Regions from separate parts of the Homo sapiens genome. Here regions 2, 3, 4 and 5 are each linked to region 1. Evidence: promoter capture Hi-C in human tissues and cell types (Jung and others, 2019). All regions are on one chromosome and are shown on one strand. The core of a region is centred on a gene start or on the middle of the fragment in contact, and the rest is flanking DNA. Distances in the headings are between cores, read along the strand shown. Region 1 holds the start of WDR38 (WD repeat domain 38). Region 2 overlaps PSMB7 (proteasome 20S subunit beta 7). Region 3 overlaps NR6A1 (nuclear receptor subfamily 6 group A member 1). Region 4 overlaps NR6A1 (nuclear receptor subfamily 6 group A member 1). Region 5 overlaps NR6A1 (nuclear receptor subfamily 6 group A member 1).

Region 1 (6,010 bases), core at 3,088-5,587:
TTTGGGAGGCTGAGGTGGGTGGATCACCTGATGTCTGGAGTTTGAGACCAGCCTGGCCAACATGGTGAAACCCCATCTCTACTAAAAGTACAAAAATTAGCCAGGTGTGGTGGTGGGTGCCTGTAATCCCAGCTACTTGGGAGGCTGAGGCAGGAGAATCTCTTGAACCCAGGGGGCGGAGGTTGCAGTGAGCCGAGATTGCACCATTGCACTCCAACTTGGGCAACAAGAGCAAAACTCTGTCTCAAAAAAAAAAAAAAAAAAGAATCTAAATTACTTTCCTCCCCACCCGGACCTTTCCTAAGGGACTGTACCCTCCCTGACCCCATGGTTAGCCCATGACTCTGATGGATGGAGGCAAAAAAGATAATCACTGGAGGTCTCTAGTGATAGACCAAAGGGCTCTGTTTTTTGTTTGTTTGTTTGCTTTTGAGATGGAATTTCGCTCTCATCATCCAGGCTGGAGTGCAGTGGCGCCATCTCAGCTCACTGCAACCTCTGCCTCCCAGGTTCAAGCAATTCTCCTGCCTCAGCCTCCCGAGTAGCTGGGATGACAGGCACATGCCACCATGCCCGGCTAAGTTTTGTATTTTTAGTACAGACAGGGTTTCACCATGTTGGCCAGGCTGGTCTCGAACTCCTGACCTCAGGTGATGTACCCGCCTCGGCCTCCCAAAGTTCTGGGATTACAGGCGTGAGCCACCACGCTCGGCCGTGGCTCTGTTCTTACCCCTGTCATGTTGATCATTTCCCCAATCTGGACCAGAACACAGGCCCGCTCATAAAATTTGCAGCTGCCACAGCAGCAGAATTAATGCTTTGTGCAATAGAAGTGGGACTTTTAAAATGCTTTCAAGACTAGACGGCTGGATGGGGGCCAAGAAGATGACCTTTAACCAGCATAATGTAAGGTCTTGCGTGCGTTTCCGAAGAACTCATTGTGTGAGTACCAGACAGGGGAGGGAGGGCTGGCTGGACAGCAGTTCATGGGAAAAAGCTCTCGTGCATTTGCAGTGAATAACATAGCTCTTGGAAACATAAATGCCTCTAGTAATGCAGACTGCATTACTAGAGATGGAGTGTCTAGGAAACTGGAGATGACAGTACCTTTCAGCTTGGTGGTTGTCAGTCCAAACAGTGAGCATGGTTCTAGTTCTGGTCCACACACTTTTTAAGAGGGATAATGACAGGCCAGGTGCGGTGGCTCACGCCTGTAATCCCAGCACTTTGGGAGGCCAAGGCAGGCGGATCACGTGTCCGGCTAAATTTTGTATTTTTAGTAGACAGGGTTTCACCATGTTGGCCAGGCTGGTCTCGAACTCCTGACCTCGTGATCTGCCTGCCTCGGCCTCCCAAAGTGCTGGGATTACAGGGGTGAGCCACTGCATCTGGCTGGGAACAGGTATGTTTTAAAACCTGGAGGGCAGGCACGGCGCGGTGGCTCATGCCTATAATCCCAGCACTTTGGGAGGCCGAGGTGGGTGGATCACGAGGTCAGGAGTTTGAGACCAGCCTGGCCAACATGGTGAAACCCCATCTCTACTAAAAATACAAAAATTAGCTGGGCATGGTGGCAGGTGCCTGTAATCCCAGCTACTCGGGAGGCTGAGGCAGGAGAATTGCCTAAACCCAGGAAGCAGAGGTTGCAGTGAGCCCAGATCGCGCCACTGCACTCCAGCCAGCCCGGGAGACAGAGACTCCATCTTAGAAAAAAAAAAAACCTAGAGGGCAGGAGGAGCAGCTCAGGTATTGGAGCTGGGAGCTGGAACCTCGAAGAAACCAGGGCAATTAGGCTCTCCAACTCCCTCTCCTACTTCCTCTCTTGCCACAAAACAACATTCTCTGCTTCTTGGGGCACCGGTCAGGAAATGCTGGCTCCCCACTAAACTGTTCCAGACTTGGGGTAGGACTGCAGGTAGGGTATAAGAAATGGGGCAGGGCAAGGAAGCCAGGAAGAGTAAGGACAGGCAGGCAGGGGCCAGACAGGCGGGGCCGATTCTTTAAGAACAATTCAACAGATACCTGGGGCCCCTGCCCAGCTTAGAGCTGGAATGTGGCTCCTCAAAACCCCAAGGGTCCTGCCTTTTCTAGTCCCTCCCTTCCTCTCCTGAGAGTTGACCACTCTGGAGATTTGGGGGTTTTGCTTGCTTTTCTTATCCAAATAAATAGAGGGTTCTTTTTTGCCTGCCTTGATTGTTTTCTTTCTTTCTTTCTTTTTTTTTGCTGAACAGATGTTTGTGAGGTTTGTTGTCGTTGTTGTTTTGTTTTTAGTAGAGATGGGGTTTCACCATCTTGCCCAAGCTGGTCTTGAACTCCTGGCCTCAAATGATCTGCCTGCTTTGGTCTCCCAAAGAGCTAGGATTGCTGGCATGAAACACCATGCCTGGCCCTGTGGGGTGTTTTAAGGTTGACATGCGTAGCTGAGGAGAGGCAAGGCTGGTCCAGGACCTCCAGTCCCCTTCAGGGAATGGAGTGACAGTGAGAAAAGCCAGCGCGGCATCCATCCTGGACATCTTGGTAGAGCCCTCTCCCTGGACAGCCTGGCCAAATACAGGAGAGAAGGCGGCAGGCTCCCTGAGGAGAAGGAAGAGATAGTCAGTGGTGGAAAACTGGCAGAAACTTCTCCACCACTTCATCCGCGGAGATGATCCTCCGGACCCTGGCATTCACGTTGGTGGTTCCACCTACAGATGCCTGAGCCAAGCCCACGGGTTTCGACCCCAGCTCCACCCCTTCGGCCAAGCAGTCACTGGGCCTGGTGGACAAGGTCTACCCTGAGGGTTCTGGGAGTGAAGGGCTGGGCTGGGGAAGGTGGCTCTGGGCCCTCTGGATAGAGCAGGAGCAACCAAGTGGCTAGACAATGTGCCCAGGGCCGGGGCATGGGTTGGGGGGGTGCCTGAGCAGGAGAGCCAGAGGGCCAGGGAATAGTAGCTCTGGGGAGCTGTGTCTGGGAGCCACATCTGGGTGTGGGGGGACAGCTTTATAGGCCCAGCTCAGAAGGGTCCCACAGTGACCTAGGCCCTCTGGGATCTGGGATGGAGTGGGACTGCCTCAAAGCTGTCATTGTCGCTCCCTCACCCGCCTGACTGTCTGGGACTTAAAATAGCAGGAGCACAGCGGATCTCCTGAGAAGTTTCTGGCAAAGAGGTTTAGGGGGGGAGGGTGTGAGTCGCCGCTGGGAACTCTTGAGTTTGAAGCTCCCAAAGCCCAGCTGCTCCACCCCTGCCCCCAGGGAGCCTAGAATCCATGGGCGGGGCAGGTGGGGGGTCCTCTGTTCCCTCCCTGTCCTGCTGTGGGAGTGGGGAGACTGGGTCCTGCCCCAGCTCTGCCATGGAAGCACCGGCTAGATGGCTGGGCCAAGTCCTGCCCCCTTCGGACCTCAGTTTCCCAGATGTACCAGGAGTTGCGGACCTCAACATCTGCTGAGAGGTCCCTGGAGTTCATGGCAGGTGGTCCCAGTACAGACACCCAGAGTCAGACAGCCATGGGCTGAAATCCCAGTTCCACTCCTACTGGCTGAGTGGCTCTGAGCAAGTCCTCCCAGCTCTCCGGGTGAGTTTCTTCACCTGTAAATTAACAATGAAACCAAGTCCTGCTCGTTCCAAGCTTCAGATTGCGCTATCCGGTAAGGATCCTGGCAGCTCCTGGGCAACTGCCCCCCAGCCCCAGCCTCCACCCCATCCTCAGATGGCACATTTTGTGCTGCCAGGAATGTTAACAGCAACGTGACCCCACTTTTAATGCCATGTACTTTACACACACTACCTCTGGCTTCCACGCCCTGGAGGACAGAGCTGGCTACTGTCCCCAGCGCTCTCCTGGGACATCCTTAACCTCAGTACTGGCCACTCCTGGACGGAAGGGGTATTGGCTCCTGAGGGGGCCCTCTTGGGCATCTACCGTGTGCCAGGCCCTGTGCTTGGCTCACCCCTGGAGTCCTGTGGGGCAGGGCTGATGCTCCCGGTTGTGCAGATGGGGAGACAGGCTCGTTGCTCCCCTGTATCAAAGAGGTGCAGGGACCCCTTGCAGTTCGCAGTCCGCAGGGCGCGGGGCCGGGCTCTGGGCCGCGCGGTGCGTGTGGCTGGCGCGCCCTCTAGTGGCCGCTCTGCCTGCCGTGTTGCCCCGCGCGAGAGCTGCCCTAGAGTGGACGCGCAGCCGCTGGCGCGGGAAGTCCCTTCTCCCAGCCCGCCGCGGTCCCGCCTGCTGCGGCTCCACCTCCGCCGAACTGCAAGCGGTCTGGCCTGCCTGTCAGTCCTCGTGGCTTCGCAGGGACCCCACCATGGCCGCACGCCCCGCCCCGATTACCATGGAGACCGCCTGTACACAGTTTCCTCTTTCCTCTGCCCAGTCCTGGGGTCCCGCGGCCGCCTAGGAGGGAGCCCGCCGGGGCGGGGCGGGGCCGGGTGCCCATGAACAGCGGGGTCCCGGCCACGCTGGCCGTGCGGAGAGTGAAATTCTTCGGCCAGCACGGCGGGGAGGTGAGGTCCAGCGGGCTCTGCCCAGACTCCCGGCTTTGGATGCAGAGTGGTTCCTGGTTCTGTGTAGTGGGGGTTCCAGAATGTTCTCTGGGCAGTGGCTCAGGACATTGAGTCCAGAGTAGACTTTGCTAACCCAAGAAGGATCGAAGTAGGTTCTCAGCTCCAGTGCCGGGCCCCAGCTCCAGAGCAGCTCTAGGTTCTAAGCTCTGCCTGTAAAAAGAGCCCCGGGCTCTGGGCTCTGCCTCGAGAGGGGCACAAAGCTCCCTGCTGACTCTGGTGTTTTCTGGGGCCCTGGCTCTAAAGTGAACTCAGAACTTAGAGTAGATTCTGGACTCTCCGTTGTCAGCTGCGGCTCTGGAATGGGCTCTTAGCTCTGGGGTTCCAGGCTCTGGTTCCAGAGAAGGCTCTTGCCTCCAACTGCAGGCTCTGGCTTTACGGGACTCGAGAGAGGGCCCAGTGGGTCCCGGGTTCTGGGCTCTGGTGGTGGAGTGAGGCTTGAAGTCAAGCTCCAACCCCAGGCTCTTGGGGGGCAGTGTTTAGGGGTCAGAGATGAGCGGACAGGGGTTTCTTCCCCAGAATGGGACCGCTTTTGTGCTGTTTCTAGGTCAACTCTTCTGCCTTCTCCCCTGATGGCCAGATGCTGCTCACAGGCTCAGAAGATGGCTGCGTGTATGGCTGGGAGACCCGGAGTGGGCAGCTGCTGTGGAGGCTGGGTGGCCACACAGGTGGGGCTCCCACACCTGGCCGGGAAGACCGAGGCACAAGGGTCTGGCATGCTGCAGAGCTGACTGCAGTGACCTCCGATGAGCTGGGCACGGGTGCAAGGCAGGGCTGGGCAGGTTGGGAGATGGGACGAGATATCTGGGTGCTGGGGCTTAGACTCTAACAGGCCTGGACTCAGCCTTCTTTAAAAACACACACACACACACACATACATACAAAAACAACTGTAATGTAACACAGTAATACTTACTGTTGCATCCTTTTTTGTGTGTGACAGAGTCGCTCTCTGTCACCCAGGCTGGACAACCTCGGCTCACTGCAACCCCCGCCTCCTGGGTTCAAGCAATTCTCTGCCTCAGCCTCTCGAGTAGCTGGAATTATAGACACCTGCTACCACACCCAGCTAATTTTTTTGTATCTTTAGTAGAGACGGGGTTTCACCATCTTGGCCAGGCTGGTCTTGAACTCCTGACCTCGTGATCCACCCACCTCGGCCTCCCAAAGTGCTGGGATTAAAGGCGTGAGCCACTGCACCGGCTTTGTTGTGTCCATTTTTAAGTGTACAGTTCAGAGAATCCAGTACCTTCACATTGTCGTGACACCAATCTCCAGAGCTCTTCCTCTTGCAGAACTGAACCTCTGTCCCCACTAAACAAGTCCCCAATCTCCCTCCTCCCAGCCCCTGACAACCACTGTTTTTCTTTTTGTCTCGATGAATCTGACCTCTCTGGGTGCCTCTAAGTGGAGTCACACAGTATTTGTCTTTTTGTGACTGGCTTATTTCACTTAGCATGATGTACTTAAGGTTC
Region 2 (6,010 bases), core at 1,060-3,559, 480 kb before region 1:
CTGCCTCCCTGTCCCACCTTTCCTCACACCCCAAGACCAAAAACAATTCATGTGAGGAGTCACATGCAATTTGAGGTGGCTTTATAGTCTCCCAGATAGAGTCCATCGGCTCCTCTTCCGCCGTACCCCTACTGCCCACTGTATGGGTACCGTTCTCGACTTTTCATGACATAGTCCCTGCTTGTGGGCCTGTGCACCCCTCTCTAGGTTGTAAAGTCACTAAGAAAGGGACCATGTCTTAAAACCAGGCACAGGCCTGATCAACAAAACTCAAGGTGAATGGCATGCAAGCCCACCCTTCACATGTCTGAAGGACCACCGTCTATCAACAGTTTACAGAGGGCTTAATGGCAACTCCAGTGGCAACACAGATCTCTTCTGGTGGCGCAGATGCCAAGAAACTTCCCCTATTACACTCTGCCTTTGCCAGTTTTGATGTGCCTTAGGAGTTTTTGAGAAAGAGCACCTTTTTTTTTTTTTTTTAAAGCTTTCACAATAGCAGAAGGTATCCAGGGTATATTTGTTCCGACCATAATCATTTGGCTATTTTTAGAACTGTTTTTACTTCAGCTAGCAAAACCTACACTTGATATAGGCTGTCATGGAAAAAAAAAAAACCTGTCATAAAGGTAGTAATGGCTTTGAAATATCTCATCCAAGCCAACTTTATTCTCATCCCTCTTAAGAATCGCCAGTCCCTTCAAATATTGGCAGTTCCGTTTATTCAGATCTTCCGATATATAAAATTTGCTGACTTTCCCCCCTTGAGTTGATATAGATACATAAAAACTGCAAAGCTTTTTTTTTCTTGGCTAGAAACAAAACTTCTCTGCCTGCCTGTGTAAAATACAGGGGCATTTTTAAATTACCATATGCTTTAGATCACAAGGTAAAAACAGTACAGTAGCAATTTAAAACCTTCCAGCCTGTGAAAGCTGACAATTAACTCAGTGAAATACGGTCCAAGCCCTCACGCCCCCCAATTCTTGTAGGCAGTGGTCTCAATTAACACCTAAATGCCCTGCATTAGAAGGTTTACCATTTTATAGTTTAGGTTAATTTACATATATCATGCAAACCTACACAGGTACTACATTTAAATATTTGGCCCCAAATATTATTTTAAACTTAATTTTCCACAGAGCTAATAAAAAGAAGAAAAATCTTTGCTAAAATTCTTCATCATGCTTCCGTGTATATTAGCAAATGTGCAGTGTGTGACTGTCTTGCACACCCATGAACCCACCACCCCCCTTTCTGATATCGCACACCACACAAGTACAATAAACCATGTGAATATTTCATACCGCTGTGAAATATGCTGGATTATCAATTCAACATCTGCTGTCTTTAGGGTCCGGGAGTCCCGCAGAGACACTTTCAATTTGTAATTGAGTTCTATGCTGAATTAATCAGCAGTTTATCTTTTTTACTAAAATAATGTCTTCACCACTAAACCAGATTTACATTAACAATTTATGCCAAATTACCTGCCAAGGCAAAACTTATAAGATTCTAAGCTACAAACCAGTAACACTCGGTCCTATATTTCATTTCTTGTATTTCTTTAACCCATATACAAGAAAGTGGAAATCCATTGTTCCAAGAGCTTGCGAAACTCTAACCACAGACGACCTCTTGGATTTCTAACAGAGCCTCACTTTTGATGGTGAAATTCGTGCTGGTTTCCTCCTCTCCCCCTGAAAGCCACTGTTCAATAAGTGGTTATGATTCCAAATTTTTACCAAATAGAATTCTAAAATGAAATAAAGTCAGTGAATAACAAAAGAGTATCTTTTATTTCTTTTCCCAATGAAAATCTTCCCATTCTAAATCTTGGCTTGGCTCAAGTAACCGAAAAAAGACAACCTAGATAAAGGAAGGATTTTTAGTGCTTATTATGTACCTGAGACCCAAGTTAGCAAAGGCAATTCAATTTGAAGAGAGCGGTGAAGTCCCATTTTCTCTTTGATATCACGACACAGAACATTTCATTAGCAATATCTTCCTTTCAATTCCACCTATACAGTTAAAAGTCTCCAAACACTTACGAATTCAACACTATCTCTGAATCTAGCTCTCACCTCTCTCTCTGATTCGTCTCTGGTCACAAGACCAGAAGTTTTTTGCTTGCTGGACTTTTGCCACAGGTGCCAGCAGACAACATACTTCGTGAAATATTTCTCCTATATGGTGTATGTCCCCCTACATTTCAGTTCTAGGAAATATGTAAAGCAAAAACATTGCTTTTTACAAAAACACTGCTTTTGTTCTAGGAAATATGTAAAGCAAAAACATTGCATATTACAAATGGAACACCTGCTCCAAAGAAATGCATCATAAATAATTACCTATCAACTACAATAGAATACCTATCCCTTCTTTTCTATCTACTTTGCCAATAGCTGCACAAGGAATTCCCACCACCATACACAACAGCCTCTCTCAGTACTGCCTCTGCATTACAGCACCAAGCCTAACAGCTGGTAATCACTTGGAACCTGATGACATTCTGCTGATGACATACTGGTTATATGAGAATATGAAATTGGGTGTTTACACAGCAGGGCAGAAGACATGACAGAATTTTCAGAAATATTTTTGGGAGAAAAATCAACAAAGTCAATAACAAAGCCAATATACCATTTGTTGATATCCTTTCATTACTCCTCTAAGAACTGGAAATAGAGACCTTCAAAATGTATATAGTCACTTTCCTAAGATTTGTTGATTCTTGAATTCCAGAGACCTGGCCCCAAGAAGGATCCATTCCAAGCTTACGGAGATTTTTGGTAAACTATGCCTTTCCTTCTCTGTTTCCTTCCATCTAACCCCCTTTTATTTCCTGAAATTAAATGGGAGTAAGTCACACTTTCTAAAATTTCCTTCAACCCTTCCCCAAAATATGCCACTTTCAACTTTGACTTTTAATAAAGGCAGAATGCAATGGCAAGGGTAGAAATGAGGACCAGCCACCACCATTAACTGGGGTTCTAAAGATAGAGAGATGAGGAAGACACAGACTTGAACAGAAGAATACACATTCAGTGGCCACTTCTAAGTCCAGGAAGACTAACGAATCCTAGAGAATCAAGAAAGAAAGAAGCAATTACTTCTAAAATTCCAAACCCTGTATGGTAGGAAGCAAAGTCCTGCTCTTGAATCAGGTGAAAGACCGCATAAAATTTATATCTGCTCTGTAAGATGCCACAAAATTCAAAAAGCAAGAAGACTGAAGAGGGCAGCCTTAACTCAAGAAGTCCCTTCCTACCTCTCCAAAGCTGGCCACCAGTGGTCTCCAATGCACAGAGCAAGCTCACTTCTTAAAAGGGGGACAACTCAAAATATCTGGTGCTGGTGGGAACCTTTCACCTTCAACAGAGTTTCTCATCATCATCTATTCTAAAGACATAATGGGTGATTTTCCGAATCACCCACTGAACCATAAATGCCAACTTCAGTAACTGTTCACTTCTAAAATTAACTGGTTAATAGCACTATTAGAAATCACTACTTAGAATAATTCCATACAGGACCCCAGGGATTGTATGTTAGGGTTCAGACATCTCTAAAACCTAACGTTTTATGCTAAATAAAGCCAGAGAGAAAATTATTGGGGAAAACTGATACATCTTTTGATCCAATAATAAAGACAATTTATTATGTCTAATGCTTCAGGTCTTAAGGAAAGCCAATAAGCAGGAATTACGACCAAAAGCAAATGACAGAAATAGCCTCAGGGGGAGCCTCTGAAAAGGCCCTTTCAATATTTAAACAAATGTACAATCATCAACCCAATTACGGCACAAATCCAGTGTATAAAGGAAGCACGTCAAATGTTTCAATTGTCCCATCTAAACGTTTCCATAGTTGCACTAGTTCTTAACAAAAAATCCATCAAAACCACAATAAGATACCAAGTCACACACACCCACCAGGATGACTACAATCCAAAGGATGATAAGTCTTGGTGACAATCAAGGATAGAGGATATATGGAAGGATATATGGAAAGGAGGACATATAGAAATCGAAACCTTCACACACTGCTAGTGGCACAGACGCTTTGGAAAACTCTGGTAGTTCCACAAAAGGTTAAACATAGAGTAACTATATGACCTGGCAATCTTGCTCCTAGAATTTCTCTTCCCAAGAGAAATCATAACATATGTCCATACAAAAACTTGTACACCAATGCTCACAGCAGCATTATAAATATAGTCAAATAGTGAAAACAATCCAAATGTCCAACTAATGAATAAGTAAAATGTGGTATGTCCATACAACAGAATACTATTTGACCATCAAAAAGAAATAAAATACTGATATATGCTACAACACGGGTGAAATATTACACAAAGTGAAAGAAGCTAGGCACAAAAGACCACATATTATATGATTACATTTACATGAAATGTCCAGAATAGGCAAGTGTACAGAGATAGTGGATTAGTTATTGCCCAGGGCTGGGAAGGTTGGGGGAAAATGGGGAGTGATGGCCAATAAGAATGGAGTTATTATTTTTTTAAGGTGCTGGAAATGTCCTAAGATTGACTGTGGTAATAGCTGTACATCTCTGTGAATACACTAAAAACCACTGAACTACACAGTTAGAACAGGTGAACTGCATAGGTGTGAATTATCAATGAAGCTGTTATTACATAGTAATAGAACTAGGTATCCCACACTTTTAGAACAGTAGACCTAAAAAAGTAGTCAAAACATCTGATTAGTTACAAGTCAATCAATAAACTCACACTTTAATATTAATTTTTTTTAAAGCTAAGACACCAGTACCATGGCTTGTGCCTGTAATTTCAGCTACTGAGGAGGCTGAGACAGTCAGATCACTGGAGGCCAGGAGTTCAAGACTAGCCTGGACAGCATAGTGAGACCGCTTATCTAAAAATTTTTTTTTAATTAGCTGAGCACGGTAGCACCCTCCTGTATTCCAGCTACTTGGGAGGCTCAGGCAGGAGGATCCCTTGAACCCAGGCATTCAAGGCTACAGTGAGTTTTAAGTGTGCCACTGCACTCCAGTCTTAGCAACACAGCAAGATCCCATCTCTAAAAAATATAAATAAATAAATAAAAGCTAGGGATTGGCCAGGCACGGTGGCTCATGCCCGTAATCCCAGCACTTTAGGAGGCTGAGGCGGCAGATCACCTGAAGTCAGGAGTTCGAGACCAGCCTGGCCAATATGGCGAAACACCATCTCTACTAAAAATACAAAAATCAGCCGGGCATGGTGGCGCACACCTGTAATCCCAGCTACTTAGGAGGCTGAGCCAGGAGAATCACTTGAACCCAGGAAGTGGAGGTTGTAGGCCAACAGAGTGAGACTCCATCTCAAAAGAAAAAAAAAAAGCTATGGATCACAATAAACAAAAATACCAGCATAAATCCTTATCCTTTTTTTCTTTCTGAGACAGGGTCTCACTCTGTCGCCCCAGGCTGAAGTGCAATGGCACAACTCACTGCAGCCTTGACTGCCCTGGCTCAAGCGATCCTCTCTCGCCTCAGCCTCCTGAGTAGCTGAGACTACAGGGATGTACCACCATACCCGGCTAATTTTTTCTGTTTTTTTTGTAGAGACAGGGTTTCGTCATGTTGCCCAGGCTGGTCTCAAACTCCTGAACTCAACCGATCCGCCCGTCTTGGCCTCCCAGCATGCTGGGATTACAGGCATGAGCCACGGCGCCTGGCCTAGCATAAATCCTTAAAAGCATTTAATGAGAAAATAATTTGGGGTCTAAATACACATTTTTCCCCCCAGACAAACGAGATACCGAAACAGATGTAACAACCAAATATAACCTTAAAACCTAAAAATCTGGAGAAGTGAGTCAAGTTCAGCTCATTAAGCTGACACCTATTAAAGCGCCATAAGAAAAACAGCCTGAAACACCATCAAAACAGATAAGAAAATCATTGTTTATAATAGTTATCGAAGGTCGAGGTTTTTTTGGTTTAATTTTGCATTTACTTAAAACTCTGTGTTTGATGCCAA
Region 3 (6,010 bases), core at 1,366-3,865, 310 kb before region 1:
AAGGTTTCTGGGGAAAGGAAAGCTTCCCTAATAGCTGAAGGATCTATTTCACACTCGACAACTAACTAAAGATATGCTTGAACCAAGAGTTTCTAAGTTTGTATTCTCTGATAGCAGCAAATTTGACTGGCTTAAAAAGCCTTCAATGTTTCTTAAAATTTATAAAGTGAAAAACATTGACTCTTGTGAGGCAGAGAAATTACAGTTTAATTCAAAACTGTCAAAAAGGTTTATTTCAGTGATAAAATAAATGAGGGAAAATGGCAACATTTAAAATGTTATTCTGTTAGGTGAAGAATGCACGGGCATGGATAGAAGCTATAGCACTTTATCAGTCTGCAGAAGAGACCACTGACATTTTCAAGGTCTTTAGCATAAAAGGGGCTGGGAAACACTGTTTTTAATCTTCCTGACCCCTACTCCAAGAGTCTGAGGGAGCAACAGTACAATGGCTGAGACAGCCTGGCAGGGATACTCAGCCAGAGGTTTTCTGTAGCTCTCCCTTTGGTGGGGGATCCCTAGATGATGACCATGGGTTTGCCTTAAAGCTCACCTGGAAGACAGTGTGGAGCCTGGTGAGGGCTGGTTGCTCTCCGAAGCCCTGTTCCCAGGGGAACTGTGGTCACTATCACCATGGTTGCTCCAGTGATTGGCCTCTTCCTCAAACTCCTGCCCAGACATGATCCTTTCGATTTCTTCTTCCGATATCTTTGACAAGGAATTGAGACATGTTAGATGGGTGCTCAGGACACTTGCTCTTTCTTCAGGACTGAGAGCTTATTTAAATCTCATAGGATTTCCCAGAAACCTAGGTTCCCTCTCCTCCATCCCCATATTCCGGGCCTCTCACTAATCTTAGGACGGCGTGGCTTCCTTCCTACTGGCACCATGGCCCTTCGTGGCCTTCCTCCTGCTCATTTACACTACTCTCAAGCCGTGAAGCCTCAAGGTTCTTTCAACTCCTTTTTGTCCTTGAGGCTATTCTTTCCTAACCCTGAAACACCACTCCTCAATGACAATCTCCTACTTGCCCTTTAAGATTCAATTCAAATGTCACCTCTTGCCAGGCATGGTGGCTCATGCCTGTAATCCCAAAACTTTGGGAGTTCCAGGAGTTCAAGACCAGCCTGGACAACACGGTGAAACCCGTCTCTACAAAAAATAGAAAAATTAGTTGGGCCTGGTGGTGCATGCCTGTAGTCCTACCTACTCTGGAGACTGAGGCAGGAGATTCTGGCCTAAGCTCAGAAGATTGAGGCTGTAGTGAGCCATGATTGCACTAACCCACCCCAGCCTGGGTGACAGAGCAAGACCCTGTCTTAAAAGAAGACAAAACAAAACCAAACAAAAAACCCCAAATGTCATGTCCTTTGTGAGGCTTTCTACCACCACATTTTGGATACTCTCTTCAACAAATAGTGCTGGGAAAACTACATCCACATGCCCCGCCCCCAGCCCCCAAAAGACATCGACCCCTTATACCGTTCACAGAAGTCAACCTCAAAATAGATTAAATATTTAAATGTAAGACCTAAAACTATAAAACTCCTTGGAGAAAACACAGGGGAAAATCTTCATAAAACTGGTCTTGCCAGTGATTTCTTGGATACAACACCAAAAGTACAGACAACAGAACAAAAACAGCCAAGTGTGACTACATTAAACTAAAAAGCTTCTGTGCAACAAAGGAAACAATCAACAGGGTAAAAAGATAACCTATGAAATGGGAGAATATATTATCATACATTTGATAAGGGGTCAACATCCACAACATACAAGGAACTCCCATAACTCAGGAACAGAAAAAAAACAAAACAAAACCCACTGAAAAATGAACAAGAAACTTGAACAGACATTTCTCCAAAGAAGACAAATGACCAATAGGTATATAAAAAGATGCTCAATATCACTTATCATCAGGAAAATACAAATCAAAACTTGAAGATATTACCTCACACCTGTTATGTCTGTTGTATGTAAAAGAACACAACAACAACAAAAAAACCCCAAAACAAACAAACAAACAAACAAAAAACCAGTCCAGAAAATAACAAGTGCTGGTAAGGATGTGAAGAAATGGAAACCCTTGTGCACTGTTAGTGGGAATGTAAAACGGTGCAACCACTATGGAAAACAGCATGGAGGTTCCTCTAAAAGTTAAAAATAGAAACACCATATGATCCAGCAATCCCATCTATGGGTATTAATCCAAAAGAACTGAAATCAGGATTGTGAAGAGATATCTGCACTCCCACGTTCACTGCAGCATTATTCAAAATAGTCAAGAAGTGAAAACAATTTAAGTGTCTGATGACAGAGAAATGCATAAAGAAAATGTGATATATACATAAAACACCTTAAAAAAGAGGAAAGTCCTGTTATAAGCTATACCAAGGGGGAACCATGATGACATTACACCAAGTGCAATAAACCAGTCACAGAAGCACAAATACTGCATGATTCCACTTTATGAGGTATCTAAAGTAGTCAAACTCTTATAAGCAGAAAGTGGAATGGTGGCTGCCATGGGCAAAGGGAGAGGAAAATGAGGAACTGCTGTCTAATGAGTATAGTGTTTCAGTCATGTAAGATGGAAAAGTTCTAAAGATTTGCTGTATCAGAGTGTGTATATAGTTAACAACACTGTACTGTATAATTAAAATTTTGTTCAAAAGGTAGATTTCATGTTATATGGTTTTTACTTCTGCCATAATAAAAAAGAGCAGCTATTAGTCCAGACCAAGAAACAAAAAGAATTTGTAAGACATATATATGACTTGAATAACGAGAATAAAAATGTTTTAGAAAAAAAGAATAAACACAGCAGAGTTGGGAATCACACAGCCTGATTGAATGTACGCTGTGCTCATATGATAAGAAATCCCCCAAACATCATCAGTGTATGTCTTAAGACAACTCCGAACACCTTTCTTTCATTCCCTCACATTTAACTGGCTAAATCCTATAAATTTACCCAGTAAATATCTCTTGAGTCTATTCTCTCCCCTCTATCTGCACTGCCATTGCTCTGCTTCAAACTATTATCTGTATCTCTTGCCTGTACTTCTGTGAAAACCTTCTAACTGCTTTCTCTCTCCCTCAGTTTTACTCACCCTCACCTCACTCCTCACAAACCATTTCTACCTGCTAGAATGATCTTCCTAAAATGCAAATCTAAATAAAACCTTTTAGTGGTTGCCTCTTGGCTCATACCAGTAACAATAATAGTTTTTTAAAATTTTATTTGATTTTTTGGTAGAGACAGGGTCTGTCTTGCTATGTCGCCCAGGCTCGTCTTGAACTCCTGGCCTCAAGCGATCTTCCTGCCTCAGCCACCCAAAGTGCTGGGATTACAGGCGTGTGCCACTGCTCCTGGCCACTAGTAATTCCTAAGGCATGCTCTCTGCCTACTAATGTGCCAAGGGATTCACCTGATGGGCAGAGATATATCCAATTTTCTACCCTCATGAAGCTCTTCTGCTGGCAAGTAAGAACAACGGGTAAGAACAAGTGGTGCAGGCTGGCCCAACAAAGACTTTTCCTAAGGAGCTGTAGTCAAAGACTTGAAGGCCACTCCCTAATGAACTGATTCCAAATTCAAGGATTCTGCCTTATCTTCTGCCACTCTACTACATGTGCCCAATGTTGCAGCCTAATTGAACAAACTCCTTGTCATAAAGATTCATCGTTGGGTCTCTTCACAGTCTATTTTCTTGAGTGTCTCTAGTCCCCAACCACGGCTCTAGCCCAAGCAGAATAGATGCCCCTCCCTCTGTAGTCCCTGGGCATCCTCTGTTACCTCTCACCTTACTATGATGTCTGTTTACCTATCTGTTTCTCCCATTAGACTGAGTTCACAGTATAGGGCCTGGAAGAGTAGGAACTCAGTAAATGTTTGTGGGATTGAATGGGGGTATTATCATTCCTACTCTACAATAAGACAATAATATTCTGCTGATATATTTTTTAGATGAAATGAACAAAGCAAAGTAGTCTTGCTCATTTCTGCCAGGCTTAGTTATCTATAACCTTAAGGACTGATCAAAAAGTCCTCTGGATGGTTCAGAACCATAACTGGGTTCACTGTCTGTGAAATCCTTAGGAAAGGCTGAGGGATCACAGGAAGAGCTTTAATCATTAACTTACATATTTAAGATTTTCAAAGCACTTTCACATCCAGGATGTAAAAGCACTTTTACAGAAATGAAAGCAAAGATGGCTCTCCTCAGCAGCAGATGAAAGAGTCAAGGTGAGCAGTTTCAGGAACAGCTGGAGCCCTGGGCTTCCAGGACGGACCACAGAGACTGAGGTCTAGAACTCACCTGGACTGGCCCAATGCTCTTATTCCGGCCTCCAGGCATGCCATCTTCTCTGATAGCTGGAAGGAAAGATAAGTCAAGAAAGGCAGTCAGAAGCACACTCATATAAGTCTTAGCACAAAAAGAGAGTTTACTTGGCCAAAAGCATAAGACAGTAATTAGTGAATCCAACATTAAAACACAGGTCCTTCTGGATCCAAAGCACACAATTCTTTCTATTATTCCAGGCTCCTTCATAGGCAGCAATATTTTGGGGCCCCCAAGGCATTGCGTACATACTACACACACTGTATACATTCAATATGTTCGAAAAAGGTGATAGCACTGCTCACTAGTCCTTCAGTTACAAACATCCTGCCAGGATGATGCATCTTAAGGTTTTGACAAATTCTAGGGGAGGGACAGAGTATTTCCATTTTTAAATAAAATAGTTTGTATTCCCAGCCTAAGTTTAGATTTGATTTGTAGAATCAGAACAGGTTTTTTGGTTTTTTTCATTAATCAGAATTTTGACCTCAATGGTTTCTCCCTGCAAAGGCAGTCAGTAGAGCACCTGTGTAGTCGAAGGAACTTACCTAGCATTTACTAAGTATAAAAAGCATCCTTTAAGTAGTATCTCCTGACTAAGAATAACAACTACTACTAATATTATCATCACTCTTTATGGAACACTTAATACGGGGGGCATAGAGAAGAACCCCTGATTTGCAATTATAGTAGGACCACGGTATTAGGCAATCCTTTCTGGAAAAGAAAACTTCTGAACTGAGTCTTAAAGGTTAAGTAGGATTTAGGCAGCCAGGAAAAGAGTGCTCCAGGTTGAGCGAACAGTGTACAAAAAAAGCAAGCTGAAGGTAAGAATAAGCTCTTCTTTCTGGGAATTTCCAAGCGGCTTAATCTGGCTAAAGCATAGGGGAAGGGTGGCCTATGTGGGGGAAGAGTAGCATGAGATAAGGGTGGAAAGGCCAATTGGGCCTAGATTATAAAGAGCCTTGAATGCCAGACTAGGGTATAACTTTAGCTAAGGAGCTTGAGGACAAGAAGGAATGTAGGGGGGCACTGTGGTCATATTGGGATTTTTAAAAAATCTTTCTGACAGCCACTGTGGAGGGTAGCTTGGAAGGGGTTAATGTTAACAATGACAGAAGATAAGCTAATGACATTATGTAATAGCAGGCCTTGCTAGGATATACCTGCCACTTAAAAAAATTAACATAAGGAATCTAGGAAGTTCCCCAGGCAGGGACTGATTGCCTCAAAAGGTGGGAGCTCCAAGTATATAACCCTGTTTCTGAGGTAACTAAAAGGCTGACAGGAAATTCAGAATTAAGTAAGTTAGGGTCCAAATCCTGTTTCTTCCTGGTCTGTATAATTATGAACAAGTTTCTCTGCCTCTCTGGACTTCAGTTTACTGAAATGAAAAGAGAAAATACTGGTACTTGTTTTATGTTACATTACATAAAATGGTATGGATAAAACACCAACCTTAGGGCCTTGCATGTAAAGTAAGCACTTAGTAACTAATCCTTCCCTCTCCCTAGCCTCTTTGAGTTAAAAATCCAAGGTTCTATTCTCAACTTTGCTAGAATCTTAATATTTTCATCTGCTAAATGGAGGCAACAGGGTCGGTCTGCTTTATAAAAAGCTGTTGTGAATTTGGAGTAAGAAACATACATAGCCTATGTTAGAGC
Region 4 (6,010 bases), core at 2,567-5,066, 280 kb before region 1:
AAGTAAGACAAGTTAAACATTTGTGTATCTTTTTCTGTATTTTATTTTTATTAAGAAAAAAATTAAGTGACTTGCCCAGGGTTAGAAAAGCAAAGTGATTCACCCAAGGACACAGCAAATCAGTGATGGAACTGAGTTTTAACCTTATTACTCTTCAAAAGATAGACTTCCCATTACATAAACTACCTCCTGTGAAGGTGGGGGAAGAGAAGGATGGTTGGTATGGCAGGTATCAAGACTGAGCCTCAGGCCGGGCACAGTGGCTCACGCCTGTAATCCCAGCACTTTGGGAGGCCGAGGCGGGCGGGTCACGAGGTCAGGAGATCGAGACCATCCTGGCTAACACGGTGAAACACCGTCTCTACTGAAAATACAAAAAATTAGCCAGGCATGGTGGCGGGCGCCTGTAGTCCCAGCTACTCAGGAGGCTGAGGCAGGAGAATGGCATGAACCCGGGAGGCGGAGCTTGCAGTGAGCCAAGATCACGCCACCTCACTCCAGCCTGGGTGACAGAGCAAGACTCCATCTCAAAAAAAAATGAGCCTCAGTGCTGCTGCTGCATCACCCATCCCCCCCTTTAAGGAAACAAAGAAATGACAGGAGTCACAACAAAATCTGTGAAACAGAGAACTACGTGCAATCTATCTTGTAAGTGAGCACAACACACCCTCCCCTTCTAGCAATCGGTTCTACCTTAATTTGGTTAAACACAGGACAAAACCTGTTACAAAAAGGCTTCATACTCTCATACCTTCACTCAGCCTTGCTGTTACAAAAATACCTCCTCCACCCCAGGAAGGGCATTTTACCCATTCCAAGGGCTCAGGTTACGCAAATTACATTTGGAAACCGATTTTTATCAAAACCTGCTTTTCAGACTGTGATGAAGGCCAGATTTAGGAAATGGAGAATACAGCCACTCGCTTGACCAAAATTTTATTGACAACTAAGGCAATCTGGAACTTGCCTGGCTAAAGGGTATTTAAAACAAAAGGGATCTGTTTCAACTGGATTACTAGTTCCAACTCTCTGATCAGTTGTACATTCTAAGGACTGACTCCAATCAGTTTCATGAGGTTGCCACTATCTGAAATGAAGGCCTCAGGCTGTACAGCAGAATTGAAATTGGGAACAGGTACCCTCAAAATTTCATTTGCAAACACAGAATTTAAACACAAATAATAAAAAAATCATCGCACTGTTCCTCTATTTACATACCATGTCCATTCCACCGCACATACTACTATAAAATTCCATTTCCAAGGTCACACATGGAGTTCCTCAGAGGACATTTCTAAAAATTGACATCAGCTGAATGAAAACAAGTGAGCAATTTACAAGACTGATGGACTATTTGGGAGTTATTCTTACTGATCACTAGTGTGAAAGGAAAATAAAAGTCTGGGAGCCCAATTTACTATGCCAAAGGAAAAAAAAATTAAGCTGAAAGTTGAGTCATGCAAGAAGCTGCCTTTCCTTTTGTTCCTAAGCAGATAGCTACAGATAAAATGTTACCTATCTCCATGGGCAGCAACTCTATGTTCACCTTATCTTAAGTAAAGTGCTGATTTACTGAGATGAATACATAATTGACTATTCCCCTAGCTGCTCCTTTTCTCTTGCAACATGTGGATTCAGTAATGTGACCATACCTTTCCCCTTTCCCCTCCAGCCTGCTTTTCCCGTTTCAATTCTAAAACCCTCTTTGGAGAAAGGCACAGACCTGTCTACTAGGCGTGTCCTTAAACCTTGGCAAAATAAACTTCTAACTTGATTGAGACCTGTCTTTGATACTTTTTGGTTTACACTAGAAGAAAAAATGAGAAAAAGACAAAAGAAAATGTTACTGATGCCATTAACTGTGTAGGCCTAGAAACAAACTACAATGAACTGAAATGAATCCAGGAAAAAGGCTACTCCATCATCTGACTTCTCAACTGTAGGTGAGGGCAAGAAAACAAAAATTCAGAAGACAGTCCTTAATTCCCTTCTTATCTCCTCTATGTGGGGATCTCTGAATTAGAAACTAAGCTGTTATTTGTAATACAAGGTTTTCATTTTCATAGCAAACTTAGGTTTTCTAGTTGGAGAAATCTATTATTTGTCTTATGTCACTGGAAACTTTTAAGGATTCCTTGTTTACTTGGTGGGGGGTGGGGGGGCAGGGAAACAGTTGCTTGAATCTAAGGCAAAAATATAAATCGTTCTCAGTGGAAAAAATATACAGGCATTTCATTCATAGATAGCTTGGATCCATGCACTGTATCTAAACAAATAAGTATTTTTGAAGTTGGAAGTATAAAGCAGACATTGATTATTTAAAATTCTTACTTCTTGTCTCAAATCATTGCAACATTTACTCACTGAATAAATATTTGAGAGCCCCTCTATGCCCTTTATGTATCTCATGGCAGTGGAGGAGATGGACATCAATCCCATAATTTAAATACAGAGCAGTCAATACTAAACTAGCAAGAGACGATGTAGTGGACACTGAAGAGTGAATGAGTCATTCTGGAGATAGATGGGGAGGCAGAAGGAAAGATTATCTAGAAGAGGTATCACCTGAACTGAGCCTTAGAGTAGAAGTATGTCAAAAAGAATTTCAGCCAGAGGGAAGAGTACAGACAAAAGGGCTTGCTGGCTGTGGGTATTTAACTGTGTCTTAGGAGTGGGTTAGTTGAGGTAGTGGGAGATGAGGAGAGCCACAATGAACACAAACATGCAATTCTGGAGTTAGATTGACCTGAGGAGTCCTTCTGTAGGGAGGCTGTGGGCATGGATGCGATTGCAGAGGACAGGATATGAAGAGAGACTGGAATCTGCAGTAGATATCTTTCTGGCTGTCTGCTCAGCCCACACCAATCTTTTCTTTGAGAGCAGCCACTGCCCTGCCTGTGGGGCACTATGTTTACACTGCTAGACAAGTTGACTGGACCAGGGACAGATAATGGCCACTGCTGACGGGACTGGAAAAAGGCACTGGTTTAATGCAATTCTCTCTATTGCCAAGATTTCACAGGGCTTGCTAACTTCGGATGAGAGTGAGCTGTGAGGTGACTAGTGAGATGGCTTTGTTCCTGAAAAGCAAAGGATATTTGTCTAGGTGGTAGTGGTGATCATGAGGGTTAGGGGATGAAGTAAAGCAGAGGTACTATGCTTCATGGCTTCAGAGGGGCTGAGAGTAGTTCCTGTGGCTCCTGATGACTCCTGCCATCCCTCCTGAATCCCAACTCTTCCATGTTTCTCTGTGTTCCATGCTCTAACCCAGTTTCTTTCCAATAACTTCCATTCAGGGCTTGAGCTAGTTAAGTTTGATGAGTTTCTCTTACTTACCATAAAAAAAAAAAATTGACTATGACAGACCTTAATGAAAGCCTGCCTATATTTAGAGATCAGGAAGAACAAGAAGAGATAGAAAAAAGGTACCCTAGGAGCAAAGGAAAATATGGACAGTACAATGCCAGGGAAGTCAAGGAAACAAAGAGCTGTACTAAACAGAGAGCAGTCAACAGTATGGAGAAACTGAGGCTATGAACTGAGAACAGGCTGAGGGACGAGGCAAAAGGCAGAGCTGGGACTACTGCCTCTGTGCAAAATTTAGGCAGGTGCCAAAACACTCAATCGATATAAATATTTTAATACAAACTTTAAAAATCAAAATACAAAATTAATGCAAGAAAAAGTTTTAAACAGATGACTATCACTAGAATTTTCCTTTTGCCTCAAGGCTCCAATAATGGCCTGGTATGGCAATCATACTAATCTTGTCACTAATCATCTAAAGACAACTTCAAGAACATGGAGGGAAGGAGGTAGATTTCAAAATGTCAAGAAAAAGGTAGGAACAACTGCTAGAGACTATTCTTTCCAATATGTTTGATGAGAGAACCTCCATTTTGCAAGTGAGGAAACTGAATCACAGGGAAATGATTACCCAAGGTCATACGAATTGAGAACACATGAAGAAAGTGAGAATCAAACCTGGTTTCTTGCCCTTTTCGACTCCACAGTGGGCTTAGCTTAGTGGAGGAGATCTGTGGTATGTTCGCACACGTCAGTGGAAGGAATTCCAGCAAATTAATTGGGTGTCAGCAGTACTTCTATAATGAAGCATTTCCACAGGCAAAACAGGCAAGGTGAATTTTCTAGAAATTCGTAAGGGCAAGCTATAGACAAACTGGAGCTCTAAGAAGCTACAGGAAGAGCACTGTGGACATGACAGAGATGATGGTCTTTTCCAAGGTCTGAGGAAAAGGTCACCAGAAATCCTGGGTATTGGAAACTATGAAATAATTGTTTTTCCAACCAAAAAATGAGCATCAAAAAGCATTAAAGTGAGGCCTGAAGGATACTGAGTACGGTTTTGGCATTAGGAAGATTAACTGTGCAACACGAGACTTCATGGTCTTTGCAATTTACTTGTTCTGAACAGTTCATGGTTCAAAGTTGTATTAAGCTGAAACTTTTATAACTAAAAATAGCTGCCAACTTCTAATATCTTCACAGCGACAATGGGGTGGGAAAAAAGAAGGCTCACAGGATCTAGTCTTTGGAGGAAAAATCATCTCTGAATCCCCCCTGGGTAATTCATCTGAAAATGGTAAATGGGCAAAGTACGAAGCCCTCAGCTCTTTTGTCTGAAGAGAGCTGTGAACGCTGTAATTTCTCCTACATGGGTAAAATTTCAGTGCTTCAGTGCTTAAAGGGGTATCAAGAGATCATCTACTCCAACCTAAGGAATGAACACTAGCATACTTCCATAAGTAAGGCATTCACTACCTCACAACTACATAACAGCTTGGACTATTATTAAGTTCTTCCTTATTCTAACTTGAAATCTTTCACCCTGTAACTTTCTGCCTACTAGACCTAACTCCGCTCTCTGAGGCCCCATGGGACAATCTTTCACAGAAGACAACAACATGGTCCCCTAAGCTTTCTCTTTCATGCAGTAACTATTTACTGAGGAAGCCAACATTCGTGTTCCCTTTAAAAGTATTTCATAGGGCATGTCTTTCTGACACCTATCTTCATTATCTTCCTCCACATTTTTATGTCCGAGTTCTTTTTAAATACAGCCGCTACATTGTAATAGTGAAAAGTTGGGCAACCTAAATACTAATCTATAGGAGAGGAGAATGATTAAGTAAACTAACATACATATACAATGGAATAAGCAATCACTTAAAAAGGATAAGACACATCTCAAAAACCACTGTTTTTTAAAGCCGTAACATATATACATATGAACATACACATGCATGCTTTGGTATATACATGGATAAAACTTTGGAAGCAAATTTACCAAACTATTATCAGTGATTATTAGGGTAGAGAGGGAGAATGAAGGGCACAGAGGACAGACAAGAGGACATTTTTACTCTATTTTCTCTTTAGCACAAGTATGTACTACTTTTGTGCTAAAAACATCAATATGTAAATATGTACTGACACTGGAATATTTGTACTGACACTGGAATGTTTCTTTATTGCTGAATGAAAAAAGCAGACATTAACCTTTTCTCTCCACCAGGAATATAAATTTCAAAGACAGGGACTATGTCCTGCGTACTCTTATATCCTAAGACTTAGCAAAGTAGGTGCTCAGAAATACTGTTGAATGGGTATATGTATGAATGAATGAATGGCACCTATATGTTTGTCATATTAGAAATTATGACACTGGTTTCAGAGTTTCAAGATACTTCCCAGATGTCACACTTGCTAGATACCACTCTGATCAGAGGCAGGAGGTAGTAGAAAGAATATTAGATGAGGAGTAAGAATTTAGTCTTAACTATAATATTACTGAAGGAGCCTTAGCAGAGTCATTTAACTCCTTTATCTAATTTCATAACTGCATTTTTACAGTAACTTTCCTACATGAGCTTGAACATCTCCAGTGATAAAGAGCTTACTTCCTTATTTGATGCTAAAATATAATTCCCTGCAATGAAGACATCCTGGTCTTAATATAATCTGTGAACACTGAGCAACCTGCCCAAGC
Region 5 (6,010 bases), core at 1,281-3,780, 260 kb before region 1:
ACACTGAAGCCACATGCTGAAACTTCATAGAAAGGAAAACATTTCGCTAATGGTAAATAGGATGCTAACAGAGAAACAGAAAAATGAGGTTTCGACTCTCTCTACATTTTTGCCAATTGTAATTCAGGCCTCTAATTTTACCATGTTAAGAAAAATATTAAAATATTCTATTTTGCAGCCATACATTTGGAAGAGCAAATAAGTCACAAGAAATACCTAGCAAAAGTAGTTAAAAAAAAAACCCAAAAAGCAAAAACCCTCAAAGAAATACAGGGCCCCAAAGTGAGAGCAAATCCCACTGCTAGCTCATCTTCTCCCCCAGTCACTCTCAAAAGCTCCACTTTTTAAGTGGTGAATATTCAACATCTGTTAAGCAACATTAAAACTATTTTTCCTTCTTTGTAGATCAAAAAGGAGATCTGTAGTTTAGGTGAGGAATTCTAACTCACCTCTGTTCCTAGTGCTTAGAAAATAGTAAATACTTCATGAATGTTAGCTGCATAATAATTTTATATACAGAGATTAGAATAACAAGCCATTGATATAACCCCTGAACCCAGAAGGCAGAGAGGTTGACAACTCCAAAGTTAGTAAGGCAATGATTAGCATGCTAACAACATTCCCAACTTCACTACTTCACAGTAAAGCTCCTGAGAAAGGGCTATCAAACATGGTCATGGCAACTGTCTTGGCATCTATTTATCTATCAAAACACAGGAAATTAAGACTAACTTTATTATCCTTCTTTTCCTGGTTATGATTTAACATCTCTGTTACCTTAAAGCCCATCCCCCTCTCCATTTTCTTCCAATCAACAGAACTGTAAAAGACTTTCTGTAGAGAAAAGGCCAGAAATTTTGCAGGGACCCATTCATGACTAATTATCACTACCACAGGAATAGCATATTAACACTGCAATTGGTTCTAGAAGGCTCAGCAGCTGGCCCCACTGGTTGTACAGCATTTTCAAGGCTAAATTTCCAAAGAGCCCCTCCCTTATTGTTGCTTACCGAATGGAGGCACTCCCTGGAGACCTTAGAGTATAAACACCACCAGCCATAGGCTCACCCAAGAATTCTCTTTTTCTTAATTTCCCTAAATTTGCTCCTCTTTGAAACTCATTTCAATTCAAGCCACATTAAGCATGTTCTGGGCACTCTTGACAGTTTTCTTATTTAATTCCCATAGCGGTCCTGTGAGATAGGTATTACTATCCTCTGTTGCATATATAAGGAAATTGAGGTTCATAGAGGTCAAGTGACTTGGCCAAGTGACAGAGTCAAGCTGATGAGGTTCTTTCTCCAACACCAGGAAGCCTGTAGCAAAGCCATATACGTAGCCAAGTTTTTATGAGCCATCTGGGCAACAGGGGACGAGTCCTTGCCACACAGACCAAGGGATCCATCCAGAGGCAACAGAAGCAGCAGTAGTTTTTGTTTTTTTGTTTTAATGGTTTAAAAATCCTACAGGAATTCTGATTGGTCCCACTAACAATCCATCGAGGCTCACCAGCCGGTTGACTCCTGACCTTCCATGCTTCTCATCCTAATTAATGCAAGGTCCTTGGATCACAGTGTGAGCATCAAGACCCTGTTAGAGTTAGCAATGACCTTTACATCTATCAGGCTTTTCAAAATATGTAAAACAGCTGTGCAGTGTGAACACCTCCCCCACCCCCCACCACACACCCTGACCAACTCTTAACCTTGAAATATGGGTAGATGCATTTTTCCTAATTATAGCGTTTTCCCCAAGTTTTTAGGAAATGACTTTTCACACAGCTAAAAACCATTTGAGATGTAGCTTTTCAATTGCCCAAGCAAACTACTGAGGCATGCAAAAAGAAGATTCTTGCAAATAGATTAATTTCCTCGGCTTAAAAAGAAACCCCAGTAGCAGGGGAACAGAAAAAAACGAATGATGTGAAAAAATTGGTGGTCGCGGGGTGGGAGATTGTTTGGTTGCCATATTTGTGCCTCTGATATCCTTTTGTTCTCCCACCTCATTGTATTAAGGATGCTAAATCAAACATGATTGCAGCGATGTTTGTGTGTGAAAATGACAAAAGCAATGGGCCAAAATCCCAACCTCATCTTGAACCCTGAGGACTTTTATGGCTTTTCCTTCACTAGGCCCTCCCCCTAATACACATTAAAGACCACATTGTTCAAAAGGGTCATGGTAGGTTTCATACCCCATTTTAACACAACGGAAATGGTAACTGAATTTCCAAGTTTTGTTAGTAATATTTGTATGTCCATGGAAAATGTCCATTAAAATAATCGATTCTTTGGTTTAAATATTAATGGAGAATTACAATATATCAGAGGGGCAGAATCAATTGTGTCAAGGAGGTACTGTTTGCGGTGATTAAATCAGATTTTCTTCCTGTACATCATTTTCCCCAGCAAAAGGGTACCGATTAGAGATGGGTTAAAAATATCCAGATGATGTGAGGCATCCAGATATTTTTCCTAGCCTCAAAATTGTCCAGATTATGTCAGTTTTCAACTCAAGAAGCCTAGAATAAACTAAACTTGCTAATTTCAAGCGCAGGTCTCCCCGCCTCCCCTTATTCCATTTGTCTGTCTGCAAGCCACATTATGGACCCCCAGTTCATTTATGCATTTATTCCTGGAAGATTTCAAGTTGGGAGAAGACTATTTAAGGCTGTTTAGGATTCCATTTTTCTCAGCTGTTACCAGTCAGTTGTCACCAGTACTTTGGAAGTTTAGTAGAAGAAAGGTGGCAATGACTCCATTACTCTTTCCAAATGCCATAAAGAATTTGCATCAAGAAAGTACCTAATGAATTAATGCCTTAGTCCTCTGGAAAAGGATACAGTAAAACAGGAATGTTACAGGGTTTGGGAAAGGGGAATCTGAAAAATGAAAATCTGGGCTGGAGTAAAAGAATAACAAACTTGGTAGTGTTTTAAATATCACAATTTCATTGGCGGAACTGCTCACTTTCCCAAGCTCAGGTGTTTTTGCTTAACACCCATATAACATGTATTAAGATGTGGCACGATATCACAACTTTAGTGCATTTAAAAATCAAATCTACAATTTTTGTAGAGTTCTTGACTATAAGTCTGGTTTAAATTATCTCAAAATAACACACTAGGAACATCTGTTTAGCTCAGTTGAAGTTTCGAGAGCCAATACCAGCTGTTCGGGGAGGGATTTCGCACATGTGTTACTCAAATCCTAACCAAATCTTAGTTTTTTCATTCCCTTAATGATGCCTCCAAAACCAACAGGGTAAAGCAAACATTAGAATAAAAAAGAAGAGAAAAAGGGAGGGAGGAAGAGAGCAGAGAGGGGGAGAGAGAGAAGAAAAAAGATTACTTACTCAATGCTTTGATGCATGTGACCAAGACCCAAATGATCACCCTCTCCAATTCAATACAGTATTAGCATGAGGACAAAAGGCATTTAAAAATCAATTTGGAGTTATTTTTAGTGGGGGTTGCCTAATCTTTGCAAGTTGAGGAATGAGAATATTCCCCAACGTTGAAAGGGCACTCAAGTATTTTTCTCCTTTAAGCGGCAATCTAATTTTCACAGAGAATTCATTCGGTGTCATTGTTTTGGTTTTAGGTGTCTGTCCTGCCAGGCAGGGGCTGTGCACAAGGGCTGCATCTATCTTGAAGTGTGCACAATGGCCTCTCTTACGGCTCTCTCTCTCTCTCTGTTATTGATCCTTACAGATGCTCCAAAGCCCTTCCCCCACCTTTCTCCAAATCCCAACCCCCATTCTGAAAGATAGCTTAAGAAATAAGACTTCCTGCCTAGCGACTGGCAGGGCTGAAAGACCAGATTGTATGACTCCACAGATCAGGCCTGCCACAGTGAAAGCTTGAATAGAGTTAACCCTCTGTGAACTAAAACAAAACATTTGTATGCCCAGCTGTGACAAAGGTTAATTTAAATGGACAAGGGCCCAATATCTAAAACCAGGCAATGCTTTTTTTACAGTAGCATTTTCACTGACCTCTTTTGTAAGCAGTTGATTTTGCCTCTTAAGATTCCAAAACCTCCTACAACTGGGATCATTCATTTTGCTTTATTAGAATTTTCAATGAAAGATCTAGGTGAACAATTTTAAATTCATTTCCTTATTTTATGAAAGTTCTTGTTTTGGTACCGTAAGTTATTTTCTGCAGTTGAATGACTAAGAAGAACTGAAGTTTCAAAACTTAAATATGAACCAGGGGAGAACTTTCTGTGCAAACCTTTTTTCTCTTTCAGAGCTAGCAGACTACATATCACTAAGAGACTCAAGCTCGTCGAAAAAAAATCTAAATTCTCCAGAGTCATCCCTTCTAAACTCATGTAATTACTGCTCTGGGACTCTGCCAGCTCCTAAACTCCTGTCCAACAGATCCAAAGCAAATCTTACTTCTTAAACTACTCCTTTCTGGAAAAGCTAGTATATCCAGGATAGTTTAACAAAGAATTTCTATGCATACTGGGGGAGGAGGCTGTTCAAGATAAATAACAGGCCTTATATATAACTGGTATTTTCTACAAACTTTCTCTTGTTTCTGCTAACTTGCACTAAAAACCAATAATTCTGGCATGTAAGGTGCTGGGGTACAACATATAAGGGAGGAATGAAGCCAAGGTTACTAAAAAGAAGAATGCTATTATCAGAGGGGGTCCCACTTCCCTGGTTTGTGCATCCCCAGAGTGAGAATGAAACTGCAAAGCTGCCTTTGGCAGATGTTAGCCACGCTGCAAGAGGCTGGGAAGCTTTCCCAGGACCAGCTATTTCGTAGGGTTAATGCCAGTCCTAGAAATTTATCAACTGCTTCAAAGAGTCGGGAACTCTTCTCAGTAGTGCTTGCCTTTAAGAAAACCAAACTCTTGCAAACTCTTAGCTTGTACTTCATAAACATGGCAAAACTTTAATACTAACATTCATCCATTTTATCTGTTCCTTCAGCTGTATGTGTCTTTCCTGGCCTAAATAATAAAGTTGTGGAAAAGTGGGGTTTCTCACATAACTAGGAGACTATCCCAAATAAACAAGTTATAACACTAGTGACTATTCATTACATACACACACATGCAGAAAATGTACCCATTTAAAAAGCAACCCACTTAAAAAGAAATTAGCAATGGCTTAGTCTTATATCCCAAACTGTAAAGTATAGAAGCTCCCTACCAGAGGATGAGGTTGCCTTATCAATGGCCTCATGACCCCAATTCTATCTATAATTAACAGTAGTAAATAAGACTTTGGCAGATAGCGAACTGGATTAAGGAATTTAAAATACAAACAACATCTGTCAAGAAATAAACAACAATTTTTAATGTAAATTTTATCTATGTACTGACACGTATATTTAATTTTTTTAAAATCACTATAAAATTTAAATTAATCCCCTTTCTTCTGCTCTTCATCAACCACAACAATGAATTCACTGCAGTTCTCTCTCACTTTTCTCCATTCCAAAACATTTACAGCCACTTGCTACATACATGAAAACTTTCTAGCTGAACTCTGCGAAGACACAAAAAAAACAGTTGCCTGTGGACTGCCTCCCTTCTCCCTCAAGGCTATTTGCTCTAAACCTTCAAAGAAAATTTCTAACCCTTAGATTTGGGCCCCAGACTGTTCCTTACCTTCCCATGTCTCCATTTCATGCTTCTTGTAGTCTGCTGAAAAGTTCTATTGCAGCCATGAAGAAACAGAGATTACAGGACAAGTCCAGCTTGATGACTACCCTTCCGACACTTGGTCAATTCCTCTAAGCCGGGACTACGACAGTCATCCTCACAGGTCAGTTTACAAGCTGGTCATGTGATTGCAAAGTTCAGGCTCTAAGGTCACAACGTGTACGGAGTTCGTTTATTACCAAAGGTTATCTAAGTGGAACTGATAGACTTATTTTCTTTAGTTAACAATACTGCCTAGCACGTCTTTCTGAAAACTATTATGGGAACCATTTCATGGGAAATTCTCCTCCAGTCTTCTTTAAGCTAAGATCCTAAAATTAAAA

Evidence for each region. The method cuts DNA at HindIII sites, captures the fragments that hold promoters and counts their contacts. A contact is called where the count stands out against the background at its distance.
Region 2: a contact is called between a fragment that was not itself captured here and the fragment with the promoter of WDR38 in region 1, in 1 of the 25 tissues and cell types used here (dorsolateral prefrontal cortex).
Region 3: a contact is called between a fragment that was not itself captured here and the fragment with the promoter of WDR38 in region 1, in 1 of the 25 tissues and cell types used here (dorsolateral prefrontal cortex).
Region 4: a fragment that was not itself captured here is called in contact with the fragment with the promoter of WDR38 in region 1 in 1 of the 25 tissues and cell types used here (H1 embryonic stem cells).
Region 5: a fragment that was not itself captured here is called in contact with the fragment with the promoter of WDR38 in region 1 in 2 of the 25 tissues and cell types used here (dorsolateral prefrontal cortex and mesenchymal stem cells).

What each region holds. Positions count from the first base shown.
Region 1 is chr9:124,849,123-124,855,132 of GRCh38, forward strand. It overlaps WDR38 (WD repeat domain 38), which reads left to right and starts at 4,338. Exons shown (of 9, transcript NM_001045476.3): 1 at 4,338-4,478; 2 at 5,083-5,203. The coding sequence starts at 4,410. RefSeq lists a silencer at 4,390-4,439. The HindIII fragment of the contact is 15,289 bases long and covers 1-6,010 here.
Region 2 is chr9:124,369,757-124,375,766 of GRCh38, forward strand. The region is part of intron 6 of PSMB7 (proteasome 20S subunit beta 7); the gene reads right to left. LOC124902267 (a long non-coding RNA gene) reads right to left here. Exons shown (of 2, transcript XR_007061764.1): 2 at 5,915-6,010. Among named protein-coding and RNA genes, the nearest start is that of PSMB7, 43 kb to the right of the region's middle. The HindIII fragment of the contact is 6,367 bases long and covers 1-5,493 here.
Region 3 is chr9:124,539,480-124,545,489 of GRCh38, forward strand. It overlaps NR6A1 (nuclear receptor subfamily 6 group A member 1), which reads right to left. Exons shown (of 10, transcript NM_033334.4): 4 at 4,323-4,378; 5 at 554-708. Among named protein-coding and RNA genes, the nearest start is that of NR5A1, 35 kb to the left of the region's middle. The HindIII fragment of the contact is 3,536 bases long and covers 848-4,383 here.
Region 4 is chr9:124,568,584-124,574,593 of GRCh38, forward strand. All of the region lies in intron 2 of NR6A1 (nuclear receptor subfamily 6 group A member 1), which reads right to left. Among named protein-coding and RNA genes, the nearest start is that of NR5A1, 64 kb to the left of the region's middle. RefSeq lists an enhancer at 5,894-6,010. The HindIII fragment of the contact is 4,997 bases long and covers 1,319-6,010 here.
Region 5 is chr9:124,590,116-124,596,125 of GRCh38, forward strand. All of the region lies in intron 2 of NR6A1 (nuclear receptor subfamily 6 group A member 1), which reads right to left. Among named protein-coding and RNA genes, the nearest start is that of MIR181A2HG, 65 kb to the right of the region's middle. The HindIII fragment of the contact is 3,555 bases long and covers 754-4,308 here.